Linked DNA regions of Homo sapiens: region 2 is linked to region 1. The links are contacts of gene promoters, found by promoter capture Hi-C in blood cells and fetal thymus (Javierre and others, 2016). All regions are on one chromosome and are shown on one strand. The core of a region is centred on a gene start or on the middle of the fragment in contact, and the rest is flanking DNA. Distances in the headings are between cores, read along the strand shown. Region 1 holds the start of OLFM4 (olfactomedin 4). Region 2 overlaps SUGT1 (SGT1 assembly cochaperone of MIS12 kinetochore complex).

What was found. Contacts are between HindIII fragments. The CHiCAGO score rates a contact against its expected background, and 5 or more counts as called.
Region 2: a contact is called between a fragment that was not itself captured here and the fragment with the promoter of OLFM4 in region 1, in 1 of 17 cell types (neutrophils). The highest score is 5.2, in neutrophils.

Annotation. Positions count from the first base shown.
Region 1 is chr13:53,027,264-53,032,612 of GRCh38, reverse strand. It overlaps OLFM4 (olfactomedin 4), which reads right to left and starts at 3,800. Exons shown (of 5, transcript NM_006418.5): 1 at 3,573-3,800. The coding sequence starts at 3,776. The HindIII fragment of the contact is 2,031 bases long and covers 2,585-4,615 here.
Region 2 is chr13:52,662,961-52,668,564 of GRCh38, reverse strand. SUGT1 (SGT1 assembly cochaperone of MIS12 kinetochore complex) reads right to left here. Exons shown (of 13, transcript NM_006704.5): 7 at 5,453-5,469; 8 at 4,508-4,530; 9 at 2,832-2,928; 10 at 1,646-1,753. Among named protein-coding and RNA genes, the nearest start is that of SUGT1, 13 kb to the right of the region's middle. The HindIII fragment of the contact is 4,657 bases long and covers 1,564-5,604 here.

The DNA.
Region 1 (5,349 bases), core at 2,551-5,050:
AGGAGAAACAAGCAGATTTATGTCGAACATAGGGGTGGACAGCAGGGTTTGAATAGGGGAAGGGTCTTTGCCAGAGATGAATAAAGACTCGGTAAGATACACCAGGAACCTATCAGAGAGGCCAGCTTCCCTTGAAACCAGCTTTACTCATTTCTCCAAAGATAGAAAGACTCCAACTCAAGCATGCCAAGGCTTTTACAGAAAAGACCGACATATCAAGGACTTTTGAAGAAATAGCTTATTATAATAACAGTCTAGCAAAAAAAAAATCTTGCATTGCATTTTAACAAGGGGAGTTTAATTAGCTGCACAAACAGGGTTGGGCCATTCTCAGAGTTCTCTGAAAAATTCTGCCAACTCAGAAAACAGTGGATATCATCAAGCAATCTCTAGACAGTCAATTAGGAACCACTAGCTAACAACTTTTAGTCCTGAAGTTCACTTGAAAGACAGACAAGTAATTATGAGCCCTGCTGTCAGCCATTCCATCGGTTTCTATTGAACATCTCTGTCCCAAAGCTGTGGACTCCCCCAGCTTCCATCCTGCTTATCATCAGCCCAGCATGCTCAGCTGACATCAAAATGGTCCATAAGTTTGATCAGTGTCTCCCATTAGAGATATTTCTGCTCCTCGCATTCAAAGACAATGAAGCTAATGGTGATGAGTCTCTCTCTGCGGTGAATGCCCAAACTCTACATGAATGAAGCATGGGGGATGGGAGACAAAGACAAGAGCTTGTCCCCTTGGCCTTTGGAAGAATATGCGATTCCCCTTCTGTAGGGCAAATAGGACCCTGAGTACCTCACAAGACACCTTATATTGGTAGGTTTTCCCTAAGCACGTGTTCAATTAACATTTACTGATGTCTACACTATGCCAGGTTCTGGCTTTAGGGAGATGATTAAGACTCAATTTCTGCCCAGGAATCAGGCCCACTGTCACTCTGAAAGCCCTACTTGTTTTTTCAAACCAGCCTTGTAGCCTGATGACAAGAAAACACGTGACTCGTTGCAGTTCCAACTATACCAGTTACTCTGTGGAGTGAGCATTGAGGCTTTTCCTAGTCTTGTGAATTGAGGACCCTGCAGAGGCCCCTCCTCAGGAGGGAGACGTCTGAGGCAGAGAGTACTCTGAGTGCTTACAGCAGAAGGTGCAACTCACATTTAAGGTGATTTAATGTTGCAACTGGCTCTAATTAGTAGCCAAGGCTAAGTGTCAGCAAAGATTCAAGGTATAAAATAATGGTACTCAACATTTTCAAAGTACAGAAAATGATATGTTTGGAACTTACTCAATGACAGTTATAAAAGGGTTTTCTACCACCTTCCAAAGAGCTCATCAAGCTGACAGCCAGCCCCAGAAAATTAGGTTGATAGTGAAATTGACTCCTAGTCCAGTATAAAAAAAAAGTTGGAGTTGTGATACTGACTCACCAGGGAGAGATAAGTAAAAAGGAAAATTAAAACCTCTAAGTCCAATTTAACTACCATGTCTCATCTACTTTTAAATATCTGTCTTTTTACCAGACAATAGGCATTCTGGATTTCTCTGTTTCTTGATCTGTATTTTATTTTCTATTATTATAGTTGATAATCTTACCCAAATGCTGGTTTCTGACTGGTGATGGAGCTTCATAATAAATTATTATTGTTAACCTCAGTCCAAAAAAGAGTGCTAGACAATTCTGATCATCCCCAGAAATCATTGAGTATCACAGAATAAACTTATGTAACTGATTTCTGACTGCAAAGAATCCTTGTGCCTACTTATGATTCCCAAGCCTCCCTCCTCTAACTAAAAAATAAGCAATTTTCATCTATACTCCTTGGAAATATAGAAACCTATATGTACAGACATGGTGAAGAGAATGGACAGACTAATTTTGAGCTATATAACTTGCTAGCTTAGTGACTTAAAACTAATGACTTCACCTTGATAAGCCTTAGTTTTCACATCTCTAAAATGGGACCATTAATTGTACCTACCTCTTAGGGTTAAATAAGATAATACAGGCCAGGTGCGGTGGCTCATGCCTGTAATCCCAGCACTTTGGGAGGCTGAGGCAGGCAGATCATGAGGTCAGGAGTTCGAGACCAGCCTGACCAACATGGTGAAACTCCATCTCTACTAAAAATACAAAAATTAGCCAGGCGTGGTGGCGGGTGCCTGTAATCCCAGCTACTCAGGAGGCTGAGGTGGGACAATCGCTTGAACCTGGTAGGCGGAGGTTGCAGTGAGCCGAGATCGTGCCACTGCACTCCAGCCTGGGTGACAGAATGAGACTCTGTCTCAAAAAACAAACAAACAACAACAACAACAAAAAGATATATATTATGTACTTAACCTAGTCCTGGCATTTATTAGACACACAGTAAATGTTATTGCTGCTGTTTCTATCTAGGCCCTATCCAAATCATTTGTTAATTATCACATTTTTATTATCTGTAATTTCTGATGGTCAAAATAAAACAAATAAAAGTCTTTTCCTCCCCCTTCTCCCATTTGCCCTTCCATTCAAGCATGATAATGTAAGCAGCTACCTGACCTGTGAGGAAAGATCCTAGAGGCTTAGAGAGAGAAGCTTTGGCCCAGATAAGACTCCCCCACCCCAAGTTATACCTTAGCAAAAATAGCCTAGGAGGTTTGCAGAGTGGGGTTCCCGCAGAAAGGCCCAGAGTGAAATGAATAACTGCTTCTTACCTCCTAACCTCTCATGCCCTCCAGCCCATTCTCCTTTCTTTAAAGGAGATCCAAAGAGGACTCATCCCCCACGGAACTGGCTTACTATGCCTTCAATGCACTTAGCCTAGCTGTACCAGCCTCGTTGTAATGCATGACTTTTGGTTTTGTTTGTTTGTTGCTACTGTTGTTTGGAGCTGGAAATGGTCCTGAAGATTCCCTGTAAAGAAGACTGCAAAGAGTGAACACTCCCCTAGGCGAATGTCCACTGGTAATAACACTTTGCTAAAGACCAGTAACTCCCCCCTTATTTCTGACACCCACCTCCTTTATAAACCAGGCCAAGAGAAATGGTCAGGGCTTCAACTAGGGCACTGCGGCTCTCACTCCCTCGAGGGCTACTGTTCACCATTCCGGGATCCTGCCAGGCAGCAAAACAACTGGACAAACTTCCCAGAGCTGCAACTCACAGAGTCTTTCCCTAACAGTTCCCATCTTGGACTATATATTAGAATCACCTGGGGAGAGGTTTTTTAAAATATTTGATTTGTATACATCTATGTAGGATTTTTTTAAGTACAGAACCCAGGCATCTGTACTTTTAGAGTCCCCCCGGCCACCCATTCTAATGTGCAGCCAGATTTGAGAATTCCTCTAAAGCATAGATATTCCCAAAAGTCCCAGCTGGAGAACTGCGATATCGTCTCTCTTGCTAACAATTTAATTATTTTACTGAGGCTTTAATTCATTTCCGGGGCACCTATAGTTAACAAAATGAGTCGTAAATCTTTTAGAGTGCCCAGGTCTAGCCATCCATGAAATTGTATTCAGGTACCCAAAAGCAAATGGAAGGGAATGAATGCAGCTCATTCAGATTCTGGGGCCTCCTCACCTGGGACACAGAACCTCCGCTGCCTAAGCTGCGGCTGGAGCTGGAGCCCGACCTGGAGCTGGAGCTGAAGCTGGAGCTGGAGTCAACACCTGGGAAAGAGCTGAAGCCGGGGCTGGGAATTGGAGGTCCCACATCCCCCAAATCCCCTGCAGCTTGGCCAAGGAAGAACAGAAGGGCTAGGAGAAATGAGAGGCCGGGCCTCATCTTGTCCTCTTAGCTGGAGCCGCTGGCTCTGCAGAGAGCCCAGGGGCTTCTTATAGTGCCCAGTGGTGATTTCCCCATGGCCAGCATGTAGGAAAAGAGGGAGTGGCCAGGGAACGTGTGAACTGCCCCAGGAGGTTCAGGACACCCAGGAATCTGAGTCATGGCCCACACCTTGTCAGTGAGGCCCACTCTGTGAGCTGCCCTTGGATCCAGATATCCCCTGCCAAACATTAACTCAAATGTGCTTTGTAAAGCCCAATATTTGGTTTCCCACTTGGTACTTCCTTGAAAGAGATGAGACCAAAGTAGTCTTTGTGGATGACACAGAGTTTGGAGGCTCCATGGAGGAAAAGCAACCCTCAGTCCTTTGCCTCACAGCACTTCTAGTGCTCTCCCCCATTTTACTGAATACTACTTTTCACAGACAGTTAGGGAACTTGCCTTAGGGACTGTGGCTCTCCTCCAGGAGCGACTGAGCTTCCCTCTTCAGTTCCTATTGCCCAAGTTGTCGTTGACCTGTTCCTTACAGTGACTGTTTCTAGACAAAGTTGTCTAACAACCCCACTCTGAAGGAAAGACCAGCAACGTTTTGTTCCCTGGCCAACCAGGTAGGACTCTGCCCTATCAAGTACTCACCACTGTATGCTTCATATAGGGAAGAGAAAACACCCAAATAAACAAAGGGATCCCGATGACCCAGTGCCCGCTCTCCCAGGCCAGGGCACTGCCTCAAACCCAGTCAAGGAGGACCCCAGGAGCAGTTTCTCTCTCCAGAAAACTTTGACCTCTATTGCCCCTGAGCTTCTTGTGAGCCAGCCAGGCATTCAAGATCTCAAGCTTATTCTTCATAAAACTGAGAAATAAGATGCATTTTCTCTTGCTCAGCAGCTCTGACCCTGGGCTCCAGGATCCATTTGCCCTGCTCAACATTTCACACACCTTTGTGACCTCTGCCTTCTTCCCTGGAGAAAGAAAAAGGTGTTAGTCTCGGTATTAAGACCCAGCTCTGGGCCGGGGATGCTGGCTCGCACCTGTAATCCCAGCACTTTGGGAGGCCAAGGTGGGAGGATGGCTTGAGCTCAAGAGTTGGAGACCATCCTGGGCAATGTGGTGAGACCCTGTCTCTACAAAAAATGAAAAAAATAGCCAAGTGTGGCGGTATGCACCTGTGGTCCCAGCTACTTGGGAAGCTGAGGTGGGAGGATCACCTGAGCCTGGGAGGTTGCGGCTGTAGTGAGCCATGTTCACACCACTGCACTGCAGCATGGGTGACAGAGTAAGGCTGTCTCAAAAGAACAAAAACAAACAAAAAAGCTGTGTCACAATGAGTCGGTGGCCTTGAGCATGTCACTTAGCCCCTCTAGGGTTGTAACAATTCCTAAATTGTTTGAATTAAATGAAATATTGTATGGGAAGTTGCTTATGACTTTTGACGTGCCATAAAAATGTCAGCTTTTTCATTGTTTGTTTAATTTCCTAAAGACTAGATCAATATGTAAGATTGCTGGGTTCAAAACAAGGAGAGAAGGTTCATGCCCCACTCCACCCCACCCCAGAAGCTCCACACAAACTC
Region 2 (5,604 bases), core at 2,643-5,142, 360 kb after region 1:
CTATTTCAAAAATCTGCCTCATAATTAACCAGCTTTGTTCTTGACAATCTTCAAATAAGTAGGCAGATCCTTTTTAACTGGATGCAAAAAACTACTTCACTTTACACTTTCTTCTCCAACCCTCTGCAGCTGTGTCCTTTCTGCAGGCCCAATTATCATTCTTCACAACACAGGCCAACCCCGATCCTGTTCCACAACAGGAAACTTCACATGTCCTTAGAGCTTCAACCTAATAAATACTAACACAGTATGCTGCAGGACCTATGTATAAAAAAAGGAGTAATAGGCCAGGTGCAGTGGCTCACACCTGTAATCCCAGCAGTTTGGGAGGCCAAGGTGGGCAGATCACGTGGTCAGGAGATCAAGACCATCCTGGCCAATATGGTGAAACCCCATCTCTACAAAAATACAAAAATTAGCTGGGCGTGGCAGTACATGACTGTAATCCCAGCTACTCAGGAGGCTGAGGCAGGAGAATCACTTGAACCTGATTCAAGAAGGCGGAGGTTGCAGTGAGCTGAGATCACAGCACTGCACTCCACCCTGGCAACAGAGCTAGACTACATCTCAAAAACAAGGAAAAAAAAAAAAAGTAGTAATGGAAAAAGCCTACCTACATCATTTATTCCCATTAACTCATTTATCATATACCTTCACACAATTCTACAGCTGAAAGGACTCCAGAGTTCATTTGGTCCACAGCCCTCCTTTCAAAGGTGCTGAAAATTCAGTCTTATAGTCATTTTGTGCCTAGACTAAATACACAGGGCAAGCAAAGATCCAGAGTCAGATTTTTAAATTTTCAGTTTTTTTCCTACTAAATTACACTATTATCTACATCTTTTGAGTGATACTCTCTGAATATTAATTCTGTTGTATATCTCTACTTCTTTTAGAAACTATAAAGGAATCTAAAAATTACTCAAACTATAATTTACTCATTGTTCCCTCATAATAGAGTAATCTAAAATTCAGTTTAAAAAAAAAAGTCAGGAGTTGGAGACCTGCCTGGCCAATATGGTGAAACCCCATCTCTACTAAAAATACAAAAATTAAGCAGGGCGTGGTGGTGCATGCCTGTAGTCCCAGCTACTTGGGAGGCTGAAGCAGGAGAATCACTTGGATCCAGGAGGCAGAGGTTGCAGTGAGCCGAGATCACGCCACTGCACTCCAGCCTGGGCAACAAAGCAAGACTCCGTCTCAACAACAACAACAAAAAAAACAAAAGGCAGATTCATCTTTCTTGTAGTTTGTATTTTTAACTGCATGAGGTAGGGTGACAAAAGTATTTGTACATCAAAACAGACAAAACTGACAAGTTCAAGGGAAGAGACATTGTCAGTATCAAATCTTAAAGACAGGCTGATTATTGTATCTTTTTAAAAAAACCCCTTTATTGAAAAACATTATATCTGTCTTAGTAAATACACAAATGCCACACACTCTAAGTGGATTTTTATTCTTTACTGTACTAGAATTTGAGAGGTAAAATAACCCTTATACTCAAAAGTTATCATTCTTATTTTCTTGTCCCTGTTAAAGGGCTGAAAGAATCTACAAGCTTATAAACACATGGGTGATTAGTTCACCAGTATTTCTATAATTTTGAAAATATTACTAGTAACAAACTTTTCAATGGTCTTACCTTTGTTGAAAGTACTTTAAACGTGCTCTGTTCTGGTATTATAGGATGAAGAAGTTCCAGTTTCAAATTGTAATCCTCTCCAGAAGGAAGTTTAACCAAAGCAGACAACTAATGAACACAAAATTAGCATCACATTTTGTAAATGTATATAATGGAGGGTAAAAAACCTACACAAAATAATGACAAATCTTCAATAATGTTACAAATTATTTTAAACATTATATATGGAATTTTAGATTTAAGAACCTCAAAAGGTTCTCAAAGATTTAAGAACCTTTTTTTTCCATCTGGTATCCTTGACATGAATTCTTATAGACATCATTAAACAGCAGAAAAGAATAAGTTTCATAATATTTGTCATATATTTAATCACACCTATTTGATATTTAGATTTCAAGAAAACATACAAAAGCAAAATGATATATAACAAAAAGTGATCCATGTGCAAAACATACAGTTCTATCACTACCTCTTTTAAATAATCTATTATAAGGTTCTCTACTAAATGGTAAGAAATCAAGTTGTTAAAAGTCATACTCAAGAGGCTGGGCACGGTGGTGCATGCCTCTAATCCCAGCACTTTGGGAGGCTGAGATGGGTAGATCACTTGAGGTCAGGAATTCGACAACAGCCTGGCCAACATGGTGAAACCCCGTTTCTACAAAAATTAGCCAGGCACGGTGGCATGTGCCTGTAGTCCCAACTACTCAGGAGGCTGAGGCAGGAGAATTGTTTGAACCCAGGAGGAGGAGGCTGCAGTGAGCCGAAATTGCGCCACTGCACTCCAGCCTACGCAAGAGCGAGACTCTGTCTCAAAAAACAACAACAAAAAAAGTCATACTCATTTAACATGGCTAGTCAATTCTAAGACATGTGTGATCACAAAACTAACTAGATCTTTTTCATGAAGTACACCACACAAGTATAACCAAAGCACATTATCTTACTAATATAACCAAATTCTGCTTTAAATTTCAAATCTAAAGAAAAAAATGCACATCCAGCTATAATTTACCAACATACATATTCTTACCTCAAAGCAATGGCTTCAGATTTTATTCAACATTTTCCAAATCATCTCAGGAAGAAATAGCATTTATCTGATAAACCGTTATCGATTATTCTGCAATATACTAAATTTGCAAATAATAGTAATCAACATTGAAAAATGATTCAGTCTACTGACCTCTTTTTCTGAAAATTCCACATTTACATCATTCTTCTGAACATTCTTGATCATAAGTGTAATGACTACTTGAGATTCTGTTTGATACCAGTCATACCTATTAAAAAAAAAAAAGAAACTTAGGTAACTCTTCTAATTTTTTTAAAGCTATTGTCAAAACAAAAACTAGTCTGATAAACAACAAGAGCCCCACCTGGAGGAAGAAAACAGCAAAGCAACTACTGATTCACAGAAACAACTTTATATAACTAGTTTTTTATGCTCTGTACTAATGGAAAAAAATGGTAAGGTAAATGATGCTCACACCTTTCCAGTAGACTTAAATACTTGCATGATTTTCTGGGTTCTGACTCATCTCTAGCACTGTTGTGCTTAAACTAATATAAATATTAAAGATGTCATTTATTTTAAACAAGCTAATATTTATATGCCATCAATAGAGTTTTTATACTCTCATTTCATCCAAATACTACAGATAAACACTTAAATCCCTATTTTACAGATGATAAAACTTAAGCTCAGAAAGGTGAAGCAATAAGCCTGAGTCAACACTCCAAGCTCTCAAAACTGATGTTGGAAGCAGATAGACTTGAGCACACAAAACAGGGGCAAATGAACTAAAATTAAAATCATATGAAGTTTAACTGTGTCAGGCACAACATCATATACAACACTTTCCTTCAATTTCAAGATACATGGAAAGACTAATGGGTCTAGATTCTAATTATGTGCATCTTTTGTACTGAAAGCTCTAGAAACGTAGGAATCCTCACTTTCAAATTAGACTAGATTAAAAGCTCTCTGAGGGCAGAGCTGTTTATCCTGTCGCTATTATATCCCTAGGACCAAGCACAGTGTCCGGTACACGTATATTAAGTTAGATGTGGGATTATTTTATGCTCTGAACACCTTAATTATTATTTCATGGTTATGTGCCCTACCCCTGCTGCTGCCACCAGGGCAAGTCAAAGTTCCTTATCTACTAGGTACTTGGAGTTTCATCCTGTATCTCCCCACAACTACCATGAATAGATGGTTTTTAACTTTTCCAGGCCATTTTAGGTAATTATATCCAAAACCACCTTGATTAAAGAAATGAACTTTAAGAGTCTCGGTTTCCCTTTGCAATTCAGTAAGGATGCAAAGCTCCAGATCAACGGCTTGTGTTTCTGTTACGGTCCTAAGAATACAAGCTGTACACAGGCTAATGAATAATTAAAAGTCAAAGACTTGCTAGTTGCTTATTCATTATTATAATTGCTGCCCTCAGCAATATTAACTTTCAACGCATACAGAATGTTCCTATGAAAAATTTGCTCCAAATATAAAAGGCAGGTTAAGTTACAATTCTGTTAGATCTACTACTAACTTGTTTACCTGTGTAGTAACATAAACTTAACTGGAAGAGACTCTCCTTAACATATGGAAAGGTAACATAATATGAAACCAAGTGAAGCAACTTTAAAGATGAGAAATGATTTGAATTTAACTGAAGTACAAATATTAATCCTTAAACAGCCTTAAAATTGGCTTTACATAAAGCTATTACACAATTTTAGAAAACAAACAAAAACTTAAAAATCACATGGTAAGAATTTGCTTACTATTAAACTACAGGGTTTCTTCCTCTTTAGGCATATTTATCATGCATTGTTTTATGAAAAAGAAACACTCACTTGATTTTTGACTGATGAGTCCACTGGGATGCAGATTGATTTTGGTAAGTTGAAAGAGAAAGATTTTTACAAGTCAGTTTAGCAACTGTATTATTAAAATGCATGTATTATTAATTTACCCAACACTGCAGTTATTTTGATATAAAATAACTACATGAAAATTTTCTTCAAAGACATAGTAACTGTAATTGTTAAATACCACTAGTTTTCGGAAAAAAATTAGAATGCTCAGCATTTAAAAAATCTTAGATTGAATTTCATAAAAGATTTTTGCTCTAAAATAACAGAACTTTAAATAACAGAAAACTTCTAAAGGCATGATTAGAAAAGGTTGCTTATATAAAATGGCCAGTTCTAAGATTCAGCAACTTCCTAAACTAAAATAACATTGTTTTAAAAATCGTTTTAAAGAAACAGAGTAATTAGCCAGGCTTGGTGGTGTACATCTGTAGTCCCAGCTACTTGGAAGGCTGAGGTGGGAAGATTGCTTGAGCCCAGGAGTTTGAAGCTCAAGTGCACTATGATGGCACCACTGCACTCCAGCCTGCATGACAGAGCAAGACCCTGTCAATTTCCAATTTTCTTTAACTTTTGTCTTAGCCTATCATAAAAAGCCCTACAAGTGATTCAAACTGTTGAACCTAAATAAATGCAATAAGGTTTTAGTAACGAAAAGATAAATGATCATCATGACCATATTAAAACACACGAAATCAACTTTAACCACACACTAAATTCATTAAAATAGGCCAATAATTTTCATGACTGGAAACTTCTATATTTATCAAAAAATGATTTTATTTCAGTGCCTAGAGGAACCAGCACTTAAATGGAATTGCTTAATATTTAAATATCAGACAGCTCATCCTGAGTCTTGTCTCAAATATATTTGGTAGCTGAAATTTAAAATAATAAAAACATGAAGAATGAAAACTTTGGACTTACCACCTCAGATTCTGAGCCTATTAAAACATAAAAAGGAAACATTTTCAGGGAACAGTGCATTTTTAAGCAAAGTTATTTGTATGATTTCTATAGCACAAACATACTGATTAAGCAAGCAAATTCTCCGTACCTTTCAACTAAAGAAAAGTGGT